Regions from separate parts of the Homo sapiens genome. Here region 2 is linked to region 1. The links are contacts of gene promoters, found by promoter capture Hi-C in blood cells and fetal thymus (Javierre and others, 2016). All regions are on one chromosome and are shown on one strand. Each heading gives the region's core, a stretch centred on a gene start or on the middle of the fragment in contact. The rest is flanking DNA. Distances are from core to core; before and after follow the strand shown.

The links. The method cuts DNA at HindIII sites, captures the fragments that hold promoters and counts their contacts. A CHiCAGO score of 5 or more calls a contact.
Region 2: a fragment that was not itself captured here is called in contact with the fragment with the promoter of CABP5 in region 1 in 1 of 17 cell types (M2 macrophages); the score reaches 5.4 in M2 macrophages.

What each region holds. Positions count from the first base shown.
Region 1 is chr19:48,041,541-48,046,093 of GRCh38, reverse strand. It overlaps CABP5 (calcium binding protein 5), which reads left to right and starts at 2,015. Exons shown (of 6, transcript NM_019855.5): 1 at 2,015-2,234; 2 at 4,491-4,521. The coding sequence starts at 2,172. The HindIII fragment of the contact is 2,868 bases long and covers 1-2,762 here.
Region 2 is chr19:47,961,133-47,965,685 of GRCh38, reverse strand. No RefSeq gene overlaps it. Among named protein-coding and RNA genes, the nearest start is that of SNAR-C1, 7.7 kb to the right of the region's middle. The HindIII fragment of the contact is 5,095 bases long and covers 186-4,553 here.

The DNA.
Region 1 (4,553 bases), core at 766-3,265:
CTGTCAGGTGGTGTGAAATTCCAACTTGTCACATTACTGATGATGTCCACTTTCATTGACTAAGATGGTGTTTGCCACGTTTCTCCACTATAACGTAACTCCTTTGAAATTGGTATTTTGTAGGGAGGTATTTTGAGCTCTGTAAATATCAAACTTCTCACTTAGCTTTTTATTTATCTGAGTATGGACTCCTGGTTTCTTCTGTGGTCCTGTATAATTTGTTACTATCATTATTTATTTTGACTCTCAAACTGCCCAGTATGGCCAATGGAGCTTCTTCAAGCAGACTCCTGTGTTCTTTCCACATGTTCTCACAACACTTTGAGCAATTTCTTGCTTTAAGCATAGGACGTTTGTAGGCTCATCTTGTTCTTTTTTTGCTCTAGACATGGAATCAGCCAAATTTCCTAGGCACTCTGGTTCCATTTGGTGGAGAATGGTATATAGAAGTCAAGATTTGGATGCTAGTGGTGCTCATTCATATGGGCCATCATTGTTTCTATGTTCTCTTAGTGGAGAGAGCTAGAGAATATGTGTACAAATGTTCCTATACACACTGAAACTATGTGTTTATTTTTATCTCTCTATGTATAATTGAGATCCATGAGGACATACCAACGCCTCCAGTTATAGTCCAACACCACAGGGCTCATTCGACTTTCCTCCTTTCTGTCTTAGTAACTCCCTTTTCCAACAGTAGGAGACCTGGCCCCCATTCCCCTTACTCACTGTGTGTAGCCAATTTCCCTTTTCCTTTGCCATTTCACCCCTGTGGGGATGTCTTTCCCAGCCTAGTCTGGCTTCAACACCATACACCATGCTATTCCCATGAGTGGACATTTCTCTCTCTGCTTGGGTTATGACAACCCATGCCAGATCCCCTCTATGTGGCCTCCTTCCTAATTGCCTTACAGTGCAAACCTCCACCCCAGACAATGCCTGCATATAAATGCCCCCGCCCCACTCAGCTCATGTTCCAACACTGCACACCAAGCTGCCCATCTGTGGATTTATCCCCACCATCTCCAGCCCCAACACCCTGGGTCATGCTGCCCCTCTATGTGGACTTCTCCTCACCCCACTACCCCACTGGAATGCTGGCTCTCCACGCCAGATGGCCCCCAGCCCCCTCCTCCCCTAACCCTACCTAGTGTGGAGTCGCAAAACCCCTTTGGGCTTTGACACCACCATAACTTCACACCCTCCCTGACACCCCCACCTTGCTTTTTCCCTCTAAATCATTCAGGAAAGACAGAAGGAAAGAGATGAACAGAGGAAGAGCAAATGCCATGCTCTTAGTCACCGTGTACGCCCACTTCCTGAAGTCCATGCTTGCATCCTGCTCACTCTCACACATTCCCGACTCACCCAGGAAAACTCCCTGAGGCCAGGGGTGCTGAGCTCTCCATCTCACTGCCCAGAGGCCAGTGTTGGAGTGACCCTTCACATGCTTGTTGGAACATTGAATAAATGATGCCGTCTGCTCTAATCCTCCATTTTCTTTTCTTTTTTTTCTTTTTTTTTCTTTTTTTCGAGACAGGGTCTCACTATGTCAGCCAGGCTGGAGTACAATGGTGCAATCGTAGTTCACTGCAGCCTGGAGTGCAATGGTACAATCATAGCTCACTGCAGCCTTGAACTCCTGGGCTCAAGCAATCCTCCCATCTCTGCCTTTGGAGCAGCTGGGACTACAGGTGTGTGCCACCATGCACGGCTAATTTTTTTATTTTTTGTAAAGACAGCCTCTCCGTATGTTGCTCAGCTGGTCTCAAACTCCTGGGCTCAAGCAATCCTCCCACCTCAGCCTCCCAAAGCGCTGGGACTACAGACATGAGCACCACATCCAGCCTCTAATCCCCATTTATAAAATGCACTTTCCAATTCCACTCTGGGGATAAAGGCGTCACAGAACCTGACTCTGCATTTCCCCACCCATATCATTCAAGCCAGATGGGGAGGCAGGGACAGCTCTGGTCCCTCCCCAACCCGGGTAGAGATTTCCAGCCCAGCTGTCACAGCTCTAAGACACCGGGACCGAAGGAGAAGCCAAGAGAGGCAGGAAGAGGTGGCAAAGGAGTGCTGGAGAAGATAAGGAGGCTGAGCTCCGACAGGGAGCAGGGAGGAGGGGCCATCTTGAGACTGGTGCCCTGCGAGCTCCACCCCACCCCTCCATGCAGTTCCCCATGGGCCCCGCCTGCATCTTCTTGAGGAAAGGCATTGCTGAGAAACAGCGGGTGAGGTGGGGAGTGAGGGGGAAGGGCGGTGGGCGGGGCAAAGGGAGCAGGGGTGTGGGACAAAGAAGGGGACATGATGGTGCCACAGAACCAGGGGAACAGGTGGATAGAGCAGGAGCTGAGAAGGTATAAGAAATTCCAAGGACCCTGGTGGGGTCATGTAAGCCAGTGAGATAAATGGGTGGGGGTAAAATCAAAAGTCAGGAGCAAAGAGAAGGAGAGAAAAGGAAGAAAAATGAAAAGGGAAAGTGGGATGATGTCATTGTTGAGATTACCATCATTCTTTTCTATGGATGCTCATTGTGATAATGGTGGTGATGATGGTGGTGGTGGTGATGATAATGATGACGTTAATAACAATAGCTGCCACTTATTAAGTCATTGTTCTGTGCCCAGCCCTGTGCAAAGGGATTTGCACACCTGATGTTATTTACACCTCAGAACAACTCATGAGGTCAGTGACTTTCATTCCCATTTTACAGGTGAGGAAAGTGAAGCTCTGAGTCATGAAGTCATTTGCCTTAAGCTTACACAGTTAGTAAGTGGCAGGGTCGGCCAAGTATAGTGGCTCATGCCTGAATCGCAGCATCTTGGGAGGCAGAGGCGGGAGGATCACTTATGTCCAGGAGTTTGAGACCAGCCTGGGAAACACAAGACCCCATCTCTACTAAAAATACAAAAAAATAGCTCAGCATGGTGGCATGCATCTGCAGTCCCAGCTACTCAGGTGGCTGAGGCAGGAGGATCGCTTGAGCCCAGGAAGTGGAGGCTGCAGTGAGCCCTGATTATGCCACTGCACTCCAGCCTGGGCAACAAAGTGAGACTTTGTCTCGTTAAAAAAAAGTAAGTGGCAGGGTCGGGTTTGCTTGATTCCTGTGGGCATGCTTTTTAAAATTTTTTTATTTTTCCATATATACCAACTTGTCCAGATATGTGGGCATACTTTTCATTGTTAGGCTTTAAGATCACCAAAAAAAGAGAATAAAAAAGGCCAGGCAGTGGCTCACGCCTGTGATCCCAGCCCTTTGGGAGGCCAAAGCAGGTGGATCACGAGGTCAGGAGGTCAAGACCAGCCTGGCCAAGATGGTGAAACCCTGTCTCTATTAGAAATACAAAAATTAGCCGGGTGCAGTGGCAGGCGCCTGTAATCCCAGCTACTCGGGAGGCTGAGGCAGGAGAATCGCTTGAACCCGGGAGGCAGAGGTTGCAGTGAGCCGAGTTCGTGCCACTGCACTCCAGCTTGGGTGACAGAGCGAGACTGTGTCTCAAAAAAAAAAAAGAGAGAGAGAATGAAAAAAAGGGTGATAAGGGACCGCAAGGAGGGGATCAGATGAAAGAGAAGCTGAGGGAAAGGCTCCAGGGATAAAGGGAGATGGGAAGGCTAAAGAGACCAGAGGTCAGTAGAATTTCCTTGTTAACATGCCATGTATATGTAAGCCCAACCCTTCAGGTATGTGCAGGAGTAGGTGGGGCAGCAATAACTGGACATTCTCAGAGTGTTTAGGAACTGGTCATGCTGGCACTGACCCTCCTGCCTGAAAGCCATTGAATGCTGTTTCCATGCACAGAGATTCTAACCTTTGGCAGGAAGATTGGAGGCAGGTGAGAAAGGAGTGAATGGGGGCTAGTGTGAAGAATTCTGACTTGGGAGTCAGGAGCCCTGAATTCAAATCCCAATACTGTGTCTGACTTGCCCCATGACCTCCAGGGAGCAGGTGAATGCCTTCCTCCCTTGGGAGGGGATCTGCTGCTTGTGAGCTGTGTGACCTTGTGCAGGTTCCTTAACCTCTCTGTTCCTCAGCTTTCTCATGGGTAAGATGGAAACGAGATGTAGATCTGCATCACAGAGCAGTACTGAGGTTTAAATGAAATGATTGTGGAAACTGCCTGGCACAGAGTCACCACTCTGAATGAGTTAGCTGTGGTTGTGAAGTCTCACTTTTTTCATCTGGAGATTGGACTCCCCAGTGTTTAAGACCCCCTTTGACACAATGTGATGGGTGTTTGTCTCAGAAAGGGAGAAAAAGGGAGATTGGGATTCGTGGGTGGGAGAGAGACATCGAGAGGGGGGTGGGGAGCCAAGAACTGTGGAACAGGAGTCAGGAGATGGGAAAAGGAATGGGAGGGATGGAGGAGGAGAGAGAGAATGGAAAGAGAACCACGAGAGCGTGGGGAGGAGCTTGGGAGAACAAGGAGACCCTTTGGAGAATGGGTGACCCTCTCTCCAAATTCCCTCTCATCTGCATTCCTTTCCAGGAAAGACCACTGGGACAAGATGAGATTGAAGGTAACACCGTCTTCCCCAGTTGCTTCCACGTT
Region 2 (4,553 bases), core at 1,484-3,983, 81 kb after region 1:
CTTTTAGGGGAAATAGAAGGTTAGTTTCTTGAGAGCCTCTGGTCACAATGTTTTTGTTAACTGACTAATACATAACCTTCTTTTATATGTGTTTCTGTTTAAAGATGTTTCATTTAATACATAATGTCGATTCATTAGCACTGAACTCAAGACCAACAGGGCTGAATGCAGGTCTGAATGAAGCTTCTCTAATACACATATTTTCTCCATAAGGTGCGCCATAACCCCTTGCTTTTAGGACTACACTTGGGAGTCATTTAAACAGTGACATCGCCAAGAAAAAATACAAAAATGGGAAAAACATGAGACTAAATAGATCACAAGGACACTTGTTTATTTTTTGTTTTGTTTGTGTGTGTGTGTGTGTGTTTTGTTTGTTGGTTGGTTGGTTGGTTGGTTTTGAGACAGAGTTTCACTCTTGTTGCCCAGGCTGGAGTGCAATGGCGAGATATCAGCTCACTGCAACCTCCGCCTCCCGGGTTCAAGCAATTCTGCTGCCTCAGCCTTCCAAATAGCTGGGACTACAGGCATGCACCACTACACTCAGCTAATTTTGTATTTTTTAGTAGAGACGAGGTTTCCCCATGTTGGTCAGGCTGGTCTCGAACTCCCGACCTCAGGTGATCCGCCCGTGTCGGCATCCCAAAGTGCTGGGATCACAGTTGTGAACCACCACGCCCAGCCTGAAGGACCCTTGTATACACTGAAAGCCGAAACAAGAAGGTGGAGCATCACCTTGTTCAACCTCAGCAGGGCATGAGGGCATTGAACAACTCCAGTTCTTCCCTGCTGTTCACGTGTTCATGAATGGCCAAGAAAACAGTGAGTATATGCCTGGGCACAGCAGCTAATGCCTGTAATCCCAGCACTTTGGGAAGCTGAGGCAGGTGGATCGCCTGAGGTCAGCAGTTCGAGACCAGCCTGGCCAACATGGCGAAACCCTGTCTCTACTAAAAATACAAAAATTAGCTGGGTGTGGTGGTGCCTGCCTGTAATCCCAGCTACTCAGGAGGCTGAGGCAGGAGAATCACTTGAACCCGGGAGGTGGAGGTTGCAGTGAGCTGAGATTGCACCACTGCACTCCAGCCTGGGAGACAGAGTGAAACTCCGTCTCAAAAATACATTAATTAATTAACTAATTTAAAAAAAAAAAAACCAGAGACTCCAGGGGTAAGAGGAGGCCAGAGAACGGGACCCTTGCTCAGCCTGCAGGATCAGGGATCACTTCTAGGAAGGGACAAGGGACAACAACCAGGCTGGGTCCCGATAGTTTAATGACAATTAGGCAGGTGCAGAGGTGAAGGGGGATGGCAATGTCCAGAGGCCCTGTGACCACACACACACACACACACAAACACACACACACACACACACACACACACACAAACGCCCACCCTCCACTCTTAAACCTATCCATGCTTATGTTAGAAAACACTTAGGGCCAGGCACGGTGGTCCAAGCCTGTAATCCCAACACTGGGAGGCCAAGGCGGGTGGATCACCTGAGGTCAGGAGTTTGAGACCAGCCCGGCCAGCATGGTGAAACCCCATCTCTACTAACAATACAAAAATTAGCCAGGTGTGGTGGCAGGCGCCTGTAATCCCAGCTACTCAGGAGGCTGAGGCAGGAGGATCGCTTGAATCCGGGAGGCTGAGGCTGCAGCGAGCCGAGATAGCAACACTGCACTCCAGCCTGGGCGACAGAGTGAGACTCCATCAAAAAAAGAAAGAAAAGAAAAGAAAAGAAAAGAAAAGAAAAGAAAAGAAAAGAAAAGAAAAGAAAAGAAAAGAAAGACACACACTTAGGCCAGCTCTTTTCAAATGGTGAGTCATAATCTTCCATTTATCAAAGCACAACCAGCATTGTTTAAATTAAAAATACTGCAAACGTGGATGGAAAAACACAGAGTGTTTCATGTGTATGGCATGAGTTATTTCTAAAAAGGTTTAGAGATTGTATAGATAGATAGGGATGCCTAAATAGAAAGATATAGATGATGGATAGATAGAAGTCAGCTCATATTTTAAAGTCTATTCTTTCTATAGATTATGGTTAAAAAAACGGAAACATTGTCTTTGTGAACCCATAAATCTCATCTTAATCTTTCACAAAGCATAGGAAATCTTTTGTAAAGAATATGGCTGACTTGCTTTTCCGCTCTAGGAATGCTAGCAGAAAGCCATGCTTTTTGAAGTGAGCTTCAGGGTTCCAGTGGAGACAGGCAGAGCCTGGTGTGATTGAGCCCAGGTGGTGGCAATTAATCCCTAAGAAGCAAAGTGATACCAGGCAACAGGGTATAATTACTAATCAGATCATAGAGAATGGCTGGTGCAAGAGCGACATCTGGTGGTGATAATCATAGGTTTTTTTCAGAAATGAATTCAACTGACAGTTCACTTAAAGACATTCATTGTGGCCAGGTGCAGTGCTTCATGCCTGTAATCCCAGCACTTTGGGAGGCCGAGGCGGGCAGATCACGAGGTCATGAGATCGAGACCATCCTGGCCAACATGGTGAAACCCCGTCTCTACTAAAATACAAAAAATTAGCCTGGCATGGTGGCACACACCTGTAGCCCCAGCAACTTGGGAGGCTGAGGCAGGGGAATTGCTTGAACCCGGGAGGGGGCGGTTTCAGTGAGCTGAGATTGCACCACTGCACTCCAGCCTGGTGACAGAGCAAGACTCTGTCTCAAAAAAAAAAAAAAAAAAAAGACGTTCATTGCACAGAAGATCCACAGTATAACAGCCAGACTGGAACCATCGCGCTAGAGTCATGGCTTTTCTCCCAGTTCCAGGCACAAGACAGTTCACCAACTCAATGCCCCTTGAGTGAAGGCAAGGCTGGGTAACCAGGCACTGCTATAAGGCCATAGGCAGACACAGTAAGAAAATGCAAAGGGACCAGGCACGGTGGCTCACGCCTGTAATCCCAGCACTTTGGGAGGCCGAGGGGGGTGGATCCCCTGAGGTCAGGAGTTCGAGACCAGCCTGGCCAACATGGTGAAACCCCATCTCTACTAAAAATACAAAAATTAGCTGAGCATGGTGGCGCATTCCTGTAATCCCAGCTACTCGGGAGGCTGAGGCAGGAGAATCGCTTGAGCCTGGGAGGCGGAGGTTGCAGTGAACTGAGATCGCGCCATTGCACTCCAGCGTGAGAGACTAGAGCGAAACTCTAGTCTCTCAGAAAAAAAAGAAAGAAAGAAAGAAAGAAAGAAAAAAGAAAGAAAGAAAGAAAAAAGAAAGAAAGAAAGAAAGAAAGAAAGAAAGAAAGAAAGAAAGAAAGAAAGAAATTACAAAGGTAAATACATAAACTTTCCAGAGCCTACTGAATACTGGTTTTGAGCAAAGATTAGTTTTCAAGGACTAGGAATACCACTGATATCCAGTGATTAGAGTGGAAGATTATAGGAACATGAGACAGAGTCCTGAGTTAGGTTCACTTCTCTGTTAGCTCAGTGTGATACCAAATACTTTCTGCAATGATTTCCGCAGGGCCCAGGAGTAATACAGTTTGAAAAAAATATTTTCAGAAAGGCGTATGACTCACATCGGTTCCCAGACCCTTGGGCCCAGCTATTAAGATAGGGAAAAGTCACATTGCACGTCATCGTAGTTAGCCTCCTACGAGAATGGAGCGCGTGAAGAAACATTATGTTCCTTGGGAATTTCAGAGCTTGGTGGCACCAACAAAGACATGAAAGACTGTTGTCAAACTCTATTCATTTATCTAAATGGGACAGTACAAAAAAAATGCTGAGGCTTAAGCAATTACCATGATTTATTTTTATGTCATTCAAGTCAACCGACTCCTTCTGTAGCTGCTCTTCTACATTGATCTTATTCCTGGAGACTCTGGACCTGGGTAAGCACCTACTTAGAGTGTGTAGTTACATGCCCCCATTCTAAATGCAGGAGAAGCTGATAAACACAGTGTAGCCAAGCAGCCATGTCATCAGCTTTCATTGTGTTACAATGATGATGAAGCGGAGAATGGGCTTCTGTAAACTCTCCTTCATGGCTCCTAGAACATAATCCACTTCCTGGCACTGGAAGAGCATCTTGCAGTGGGGTCATTCTACAGAACTGACTTCCTCCATGAGACCTTTTTTTTTTTTTTTTGAGTCGGAGTCTTGCTCTGTCACCCAAGCTGGAGTGCGGTGGTGCAATCTCGGCTCACTGCAACCTCTGCCTCCCGGATTCAAGTGATTCCCCTGCCTCAGACTCCCAAGTACCTGGGATTACAGGCCCCCACCACCACATCCAGCTAATTTTTGTATTCTTAACAGAGACGGGGTTTCACCATGTTGGCCAGGCTGGTCTCGAACTCCTGACCTCAACTCATCCACCTGCCTTGGCCTCCCAAAGTGCTGGGGTTATAGGTGTGAGTCACTGCATCCGGCTGCATGAGACATTTAATACTTACCCGTCTTTAACACACTCATGCAAAATTTGTGCAGGATATTGCTACATGCTCAAAAGCTCTCAGTGATTCAAAGAACACAAACTTGCTTACGAATGTTAAACCACATAAAAGTTGGAAATTGAAAA